2 separate regions of the Homo sapiens genome follow, and region 2 is linked to region 1. The links are contacts of gene promoters, found by promoter capture Hi-C in human tissues and cell types (Jung and others, 2019). All regions are on one chromosome and are shown on one strand. Each heading gives the region's core, a stretch centred on a gene start or on the middle of the fragment in contact. The rest is flanking DNA. Distances are from core to core; before and after follow the strand shown. Region 1 holds the start of ANKK1 (ankyrin repeat and kinase domain containing 1). Region 2 has its middle 79 kb from the start of DRD2.

Region 1 (4,374 bases), core at 1,368-3,867:
ACCAACCTTTACTCTGATGTCCATGACAACTCTTCTTGGTTGTTTAAAGGCATCTGAAACTCAACAGGTACAAAGCTGAACTCATGATCTTCCTCTCCAAGTCTAGGCCTCTTTTCATAGTCTCTCCATTAATTGTCAACACTGCCATTCAATAAATATTTATTGAACACCAACTCTGTGCCAGGCACAGGAGACAGAGCTGTGACCAAAACAGACACTCTCATGGAGTGGACATTTTAGTGGATCCTCCATTCCTTTGGGCAAGCCAGACATCAAGTTAGCTTTAATACCCCTCTTCCTCATCGTGATCCTCCCCATGACTAATCCAGCACCAAGTCGGGTGGATTTTTACCTTCTAAATATGGCTTGACCCATTCCTTTCCTATCTCCACTACCAACACTCCACTCTAGCCCCTATTATCCGTCTCTCATCAGAATGAAGATAACAATCTCCTAACTTAACCAGAATCCACTCTACCCCTCCCAATGCATTCTCCATACTGCAATTCTGATTAATCCCTCCCATGGTCACCACCGCTACCTGGTTGTAAATGCTCAGTGGTTTTCCACTGCTCTTTTACTCTCCCAACTCCAGCCATCATGGCCTTTTCCCATCTTTGTACTTACCATGCCCCTCTTGCCACAGATTCTTTGCACACTCTGTTGTCTGTTCTTGGAAAACTTTCTCCTCCTCACCTACTTAACTTATACTCATTCTTCACATTTCAGCTGTAGTGTAACTTCTTCAAGGAAGCCTTTTCTGATATCAGTCAAACTTTCTGTTAATGAGCTCTCCTAGAGCCACAAATCTCCCCTTCTTAAGCTTCTCACAGTAGCACATTTACATTTACATGTGGGGTTATCTGGTTAATGTCTTCCTCCCCCTAGGCTGCAATCTCCCGGAGAGAAAGGACACATCTGTTGCATTCATCGTTAATCCCAGGGTGTAGAACAGTGCCTGACACATAGTAGAAGAGCAGTAAGCATTTGTCAAGTGGATGAATGAATGAATAGCTGGAAAGAGGATCTAGTAAAGTAATGCACGTAAAGCTCCTAGTATAGTAATCCATACATACTAAGTCTTAATTACCATTAATTATCTTACCCCCTCCACCCAGGGAATTCCCAGAACTTGGGAAGGGAAAGTGGCAGGAGTTAGCATCAATGTCTCACAGTGTAATCATGTCACTGCCATCTGTTTCCTTTCGTTCTATATTCAAAAGGCTATAAATGATTTAGACAAATCCTAGCATACTCTGACCCTCCTCCAAAACCAACAGGCAGATGTTGAGGGAGGAAGGTGAGTGGGCCTTAGGCGATCTTATTTTTCCTCTCCTCATAAGGTGGGGGAAGGCCTGGGAACTGAGTGTGTGGCACCTGAGGCTGTATCTTAAGAGTTTGCATGGTAATCCTAGAGAACCACAGATAGCATCCAAGCCAGATGCCAGTCAGAGAGACCCCCGTCCCGGACTCTCTAATTGATGTCCCAGAGCCTTGGGAGGAGGACATGGTTATCATGCTCAGGTTTAACATCCCGAGTGTCTTCTTCATGGCTGCAAGGTGCAAGCACACAGCTAGTATATGCAACTCCAGTGGGAATGAGACTGGATTCCAAATCAGTGGGAAGACAGAGAATAATGGAAACGTAGGAAAGAGGTAGGAAGAGAAAAATAGGGGCATGTCAAGGCGTCGCTGTAGTGCGCATGACAGCAAGGGACAAAAACAAAAACAGAGATGAGAGAACTCCAGACTTGACCCTCCAAGGGCCTGGACAGGCCATCAGGCCGGGCAGTCTCCATCCCCTGACCTCCTCAGCCTGCACTGATTGGGAGGGGCCTCCTCCCTCCCGCCACCGTGGGAAGAGAGAACATGATTCCCTGCAGATCTGAGCAAAGTGCCACAGCCTCCCAGGATGCTCAGCCCTGCCCTGAGAGCTGGGGTGGGTAGGAGGATGGCAGAGAGCGGTCAAGAGCAGTTATTGCCACAGGACACCGGGGGAAGAAGGCGCTGGAGAGAAGGATGGAAGCAGGCAGGACAAGTTCGGAAGGTCAGATGGGATAAAGGCGTCTTTGGTAGGTAGTTCCCGCTTGCCTTTGACCTCTGTTGAGTCTACAAACAGGTATTATGTGCCAACTCTATTTTGGTTAGGGAGACAGGTATGGGTGTGCCTGGGAGGCTCAGGCTACTGGGTGGAATTCAGAAATACCGCGGGGGACAGTCCTCAGCCCCAAACTCAGCCCACTCCTTCCTCGCAAGCTCCCTGGGCCCAAAGCTTGCCGGGCCTCAGTTTCTCCTCCGAGAAAGGGGAGGGCGAGGCTGGCAGTACCTGGCGGCGTCGGGTGGAAGGCAGGGGGCGCACTTGATGGCGTACTCCGTCCGCCAGCGCCTGTGCCGCGCCTGGAACACCTGGCTGAAGCCGCCGCTGGCCACTAGGCGCCAGTCGCCCTCGAAGTCGTCGCGGGTGAAGACGGGGAGGCTGCCCAGCCGCAGCTCGGTGGGGTCGGCAGCCATTGCCCCTCTCTTCCTGTCCCCGCGCCGCGCACTCCCCGCTGTGGCTGCTGCCTGGGTGGCCGAAGGAGCCGCCGCTTCCTGCTCCTCGGGTCCGGGAGAGGGGAATGGGGAGACGAGCCGGCCCTGCCTCCTTCCCCGCCCAAGAGGAGCCGCTCCTGCCCCGCAAAGGTGGGGAAATCCCAGACATGAGCCCTGAGGCCCCAGCAGGGATGGAGCGACCTGGGCCTGGGGAAGAGGGTATGTCCCTCCGAAGCCCTCGCATTTCCCCTGTCTCAGCCTTTGATTTTCCCCAGTTCCCCCTAGGGAGGGATGCTGGGAGAAGGTGTCCCGAAGCTGGAAGAAGTCCAGCCTGAGAAGTTGGATCCAGTTTATTTAGGCCCAGCGCTAAGTGAAATCGGTTTATGCATTCCTTCAGTGCATTCAAGGTTTTATGGTTTATGAAGGATTCAGGCCTGGACCCCTGCCCCTATCCAGCAAGTATGGGGCTCAAACAATTTTAATGGGGATTTTCTGGTCTGAATCTGTTGGTCTGACTGGTTTCATGTTTCCTTTGTTCTTGTTGGGGTTTTGTTTGTTTGTTTGTTAGCCAGCCTTGGTGTGCTATAGGTTACCAAGGAGGGGTCAGCAGGGACAGAGTTGCGGGGGAGGCTGGGCTCCTGTCTGCAGGGGACTCCCTTCCTGGGCTGCGCTCTATCCAACCTCAGAGGGATGGACCCCAGCCTCGGGGTGGCCACGGGGGAGGTGGCCTCCTTGGCGCAGTTACTAGGGGCAGTTTGTTGCCAGGGATGAGAGGAGGCTCTAGCTGGAGCCTGACCAGTGCTGAGCTTGGAGGTTCCCCTGGGTCCTGGGTCCATGGGATTGCCCTCTCACCTTGGAGACCCTCAGAGCAGGGAAAATGACAAGTGCTTGAACAGACAGGTCTCCCCAGGGGCACTGACCAAGTGGGCCATTGCCCAGAGACAGGCATACCTGGAGGAACTGTGGCCACGGAGTGCAGAGTCAGCCACTATTTGCCTACAGCTGAGTAAGTCCACAAGGAGCCCTCAGAGTGATCACTGTTAGGTTTGAGGAGCCTACCTACCAGACAAGGAAGTGCCTTGCCTTCAGCCCAAACCTGCAGAGCCCCTCGTCCATGCCACAAGCCCACCAGACTCCCAGGGAACAGTGTAGGCATGATAGGCAAACAGAGACTCCCTGTGGAAGCTGGAGAACTTGCTCCCTCTGTAACAACTTACCTGCAACTTCCAGGATGAATTCTGGCAAGCAGATTAAGGATCAAAGATTGGGCCTGGAGACAGTTGTCATAGAAACTAGTGATAGCCACTACTAATTGAACACTCACTTTGTTCCAGGATCAGTGACTATTTCAGTTACTGCATTGCTTTACATATATTATCCTGTTTATCTTGCAACAATGTTATGAGGTCAACATCTTCTATTCACAGATGAGGAAACTGGCTTCAAGACAATAAGTAATCAATGGACACATAGCTAGTAAGTGGTAGTTGATATTCAAACTCAAGTCTCTTAGTTTCTATGGAAATGGTTGGCCAGGGGAGGATCAGGGAGTAGCCTTTTATGAATACAAAAAAGGAAGAGAGAGAGTCATGCTCCCTGGAAGAGGGTGGAGATGATGGAAACTGCATCAGGAGCAGGACGTATCCCCCAAACATATGTCAGAGGGAGGCCCCCAGCTTGCTTTGGCTGGAGCAAGACAGGGCATAACAGAACCCATTGTCTCTGGAGTAGCCCTGCCTGCCCAAGTTTAAAGCCTCTGCCAGAGAAGTTTGGAAGGTGATAAAGGACATTGTCATCAGGGAGACCAGGAGGTCAAGAGGATGTTTCATACCTTCTACTGGGAGG
Region 2 (4,374 bases), core at 838-3,337, 170 kb before region 1:
ATTGTATGCAAAAGTTTGCCATTGAAATTTTCGGTGGAGAGGGTCTGAAATTTTCATCTGATTCTTAATAACGTTGAGAACCCTAAAGAACTCAAGAATCACTAGTTTAAAAATCAGGGATTGGAGAATTGGGAAGAGCTAGAGGCAACAGGAGTGTTAACTCTGGAGAAGAACAAGAGGATGAAATGGATCTTGAGTAACTCTGATGTTTTGTTTTGGCAGCGAGACTGTTTATGAACAATGCCAGTGTTCCCTGTACTTAATCTGCATTGTTGCACTCAACCCTCATAATAGCCCTTTGAAGGAGACATTGCATTCTCACTTTGCATATAAGGAAATGGGGTGCTTGGGGAGGTTAGACGACTCACCTAAAGTCACACAGCTAAGAATGGTGGAGTTTGGATTCAAACATGGTTTTATCTACCTTCAGAGGACAGATAAGATATGCAGCACGGGAAGCTAATTAGAAGTAGGGAGAAACTTTCTCCACACAGTTGACTATATGCTGAAATAGTAATGAAGAGATGTAAAGTTTAACTACTCCTAGAGATTTTATTTTATTATTTTATATATATTTTTTGAGACAGAGTCTCACTCTGTTGTCCAGGCTGGAGAGCAGTGGCGCTATCTTGGCTCACTGCAACTGCCACCTCTCAGGCTCAAGCGATCTTCCCACCTCACCCTCCCAAGTAGCTGGAATTATAGGCACATGCCACCATGCACAGCTAATTTTTTGTAATTTCTTAAAATAGAAATGGGATTTTGCCATGTTGACCAGGCTGCTCTTGAATGCCTGACCTCAAGTGATCCACCTGCGTTGGCCTCCCAAAGTGCTGGGATTACAGGCATGAGCCACTGCGCCCGCCTACTCCTAGAGATTTTAAGTAACTTCTTTCATTTTATAGCGCTCAAGTAGTACAATGTAGATTACTTTATTCAGGTCTTCCTAACAACCTGTCAAATGTATAAGGTAAATATTATTTCCTGCATTCTGCAGTGACACAGACTTCCCAGTATACTGCAAGGAGGAAGCAGCAGCTCCCTGCTGCCCAGCCCGAGATGCAGCTGCTGAGCTACAATTAGCTGGATGCTGGAGGCTGGACCTGAGGGCCTCTGGGAATTCCTTCTGGCTTAAGAGAGCCATCATTTAAAAACTGGTTTCAGTTGTAGGGGAGTCTCAACCATCAGTGACGTCTGTTGTTTTGAGTTTTCCTCCTAAAGTGCTTTTCTTTCTGCAAGATAAAAGAGAATTTCTTGGAAAAAAAAAAAAAAAGAAAACTTTTTTGTTAACACCCAAGTTATCATAAGGATACAGTAAAACCCAACATCAGAGAGACACAGGTGGTGGTGACTAACATGAGCCAACACAAGCCAAGAGCACCAGCACCCAGTGCACAAACCCCCATCACAGGCCCAGCAAGTTCAATGCAGCTCTGGTTTGGGAGGTTTTAGGAGCAAGCAGCTGTTTTATTTCTAACCACTGACTTATGGAAAGATTGAGTTGCAGTTTGTGTGTGTGTTGGGGGTGGGGGGTGGTGTGGGGAGGTGTAGGGGGATGGGACCAGGCCCTGGGGGAGGTGAGTAGGGTACAAAACATAAGTGAAGCAGCATCATTGTCTGGGGTAAATACCTGGGGTTCGTCATTTGGCGCCAAGAAGATTAGGGACACGGACACACATGGATGGGTTAAGGAGCAGAAAGTCTAATAGGCAGAAGAAAGGAGAGAGATGGACATCTGGGCATCTGAAAGGGAAAAACTGGCCTGAGGCATACCACAGCAGATTTTATAGGCAGGCTTGAGCAGGTGGTGTCTGATTTACATAGGGCCCACAGATTAGTTCCACAAGGTGTGACATATACATAGCACGAAGTGAAAGGCTGGTAGCCCCACCCTGATCTTATTATGCAAATGGGCTTTCCACTTGGCCAGGATCTTGCCTGCTCCTTATTGTACATGTGGCTGGCAAAGAGACAGGAAGATGGAGCCAAATTTTGATCATGCCTAGTCCCAGGTAGCCTATTTCTATTGACATAACTGCCGGCATTCACCCGTGCAAACTTCCAGCTTCCCTTTCTATGTCTGCAGCTCGATTTTACAGGCTGCTCTTTGTTAGAAAAGAAAATGATTTTGGGGCTGCTTTTCATTAAAAGGAAAACCTTAGTGAGGACTTCCTTACCCTCACTATCTGCCTAAATAATTTGTTTTTAACTCCTATATCTTAAGGCAGCACCCACTCTCAGAATTGCTCCTGTGTGGGGTCAGCCCTGAGAGTGGTGCCTCTTTATATTTTTCATCCTCTAAGCCTCACTCACCGCCAGCTGGGCCTGGGCCTGAGCAATAGGGTTGGGCCTTCTCATTAAAGACATTTAAAGTCCCTGTCTCCTAGCTCATAACAGTCAATGAACAGAATGCTTATTTAAATATTCTCTTCCCTCTAAAAGGAACAGTTGGGTTGCTGCAGGTGCATATGGAGTGAGCATATGTAGGGGTCTGTCCTTCAGCTAAACACCACTCCATGCTCTGGTGGGTGTGAACGCCCCCCAGTGGGTGGAACTGTTCCTATGATTAGTCATATTTTGTTTAATTTTTACTCCTAATGGATCACTGGTTGAAGAGAGGAAGTATAAGGAACACTCACATTGAAATTAAAAAAAGACAATGAGAATTGTTTGCCTCACAATCACCTTGAACAAATCAGCAAGCTGCATGTAGCTACTCAAAATTCTCATATAGCATATCAACGTGTCTCTAGTACTTCAAAAACCAATATTAAAACAGAAAAAGTGCATTTCATTTTGGTTTTTCATTTATTGGGAATAAATATTATGCATGAAGATTTTGTCTGCAGATGAGATGCTTGAAAGTAGCAGGCTGAAAGCTTCTCTTTTATCTCCTTTAGAAATAAAATATGAAATATTTTAAGAAAAAAGACTAGTTCATTCTTTAAAGTGCAAAATTTAATAATTTCAGTCATCTGGTCATCAGAGCAGTTTTTGATGCTGTAATATCTAGTCAAAATTTTAGTATGTGTTCCAGCCCCAAACCAAACACTTCAGACTAAGACGGTGTTTTAAATTTCTGAGGGAATTTCTGAGTCATCCTTCTGTGAAACGACTGGAATGTGCGGGTGTGAAAGAAAGAGTCTAAGCTTTGGAGCCAGAGAGAACTGACTTGGGAATCCTCCCGGACCATGCCACACCACAGGAATCCTTCCGGACCACACCAATCCTGCTGCTCTTGTAGCTTCGGTTTCCACATCTGCAAGAAACAGCCTGGGAAGCTTGAGTGCACGTGCCATGAGCTTACTAGATGTGATCTCTCCATGGATGGCAACTTTTTGTCATTTATGTTTGGGCTCCATTCTTCCTTGACAACCGATTTAATTGCTACCCCACCCCCATGCCCAAAACCGCCTCCTGCCACATTTCGTTTTCATTATAGTCATAGCACTATTGCTGCCTGATGGTATCTTATTCATTTGCTTATTTTATTTTTTTATGTTTTTTGAGACAGGGTCTTGCTCTGTCACCCAAGCTGGAGTGCAATGGCAGGATCTCAGCTCACTGCAACCTCTGCATCCCAGGCTTAAATGATCCTCTTGCTTCAGCATCCCAAGTAGCTGGGACTACAGGCACGTGCCACCATGCCAGGCTAATTTTTGTATTTTTTTGTAGAGGCAGAGTTTTGCCATGCTGCCCAGGCTGGTCTCGAACTCCTGGACTCAAGCTATCTGCCTGCTTCAGCCTTTCAAAGTGCTGGGATTATAGGCATGAGCCAATGCACCTGGCCTCTCATTCATTTATGTTTATTTATTTATTTGTTTTGTTTTACTGCCTGCTGCCCTTGCTGGAATGTGAAGTCTCAGGAATCTCACCCAGAAAACCTCTTTTTCTTTCTTTCTTTCTTTTATCATTGCCTCTCCTGTGTTTAGAATAGCCTGGATCTAATACATGCTTAATAAAGCTTTGTTGAATGAATGTTAAATGACTTTCTCTTTTCTCTCTTTCATAACTGGCTGCGACAGTCATTTCATCTGTCCATGTCTTTGTTACTTCATTTGTCACAGAAGCACATTGTTCTAGATCAGCAGTCGGCAAACTATACACAGCCCATGGGTGGAATCTGGCCCACCACCTGTTTTTGTGTATAAAGTTTTATTGAAACACAGCCATGCTCACTTGGTTACATATTGCTGCAGCTGCTTTTGCACCCCAACTGCAGGGTTGAGTAGTTGTGGAGATGATATAGCTTGAAAGCCTAAAATATCTACTACCTGCCCCTTTGCAGAAAAGTTTGCTAATTCTTGGTCTGGTTGAACTCTGAGTTGTTTATACTCCTGATACTTTTAATTGTCTCTGAAATACTCACATGAG

What was found. Contacts are between HindIII fragments. The study calls those that stand out against the background at their distance.
Region 2: a contact is called between a fragment that was not itself captured here and the fragment with the promoter of ANKK1 in region 1, in 2 of the 25 tissues and cell types used here (mesenchymal stem cells and thymus).

Annotation. Positions count from the first base shown.
Region 1 is chr11:113,386,022-113,390,395 of GRCh38, reverse strand. ANKK1 (ankyrin repeat and kinase domain containing 1) reads right to left here and starts at 2,617. Exons shown (of 8, transcript NM_178510.2): 1 at 2,327-2,617. The coding sequence starts at 2,511. The HindIII fragment of the contact is 9,665 bases long and covers 1,549-4,374 here.
Region 2 is chr11:113,552,239-113,556,612 of GRCh38, reverse strand. No RefSeq gene overlaps it. Among named protein-coding and RNA genes, the nearest start is that of DRD2, 79 kb to the right of the region's middle. RefSeq lists an enhancer at 2,397-2,898. The HindIII fragment of the contact is 3,073 bases long and covers 551-3,623 here.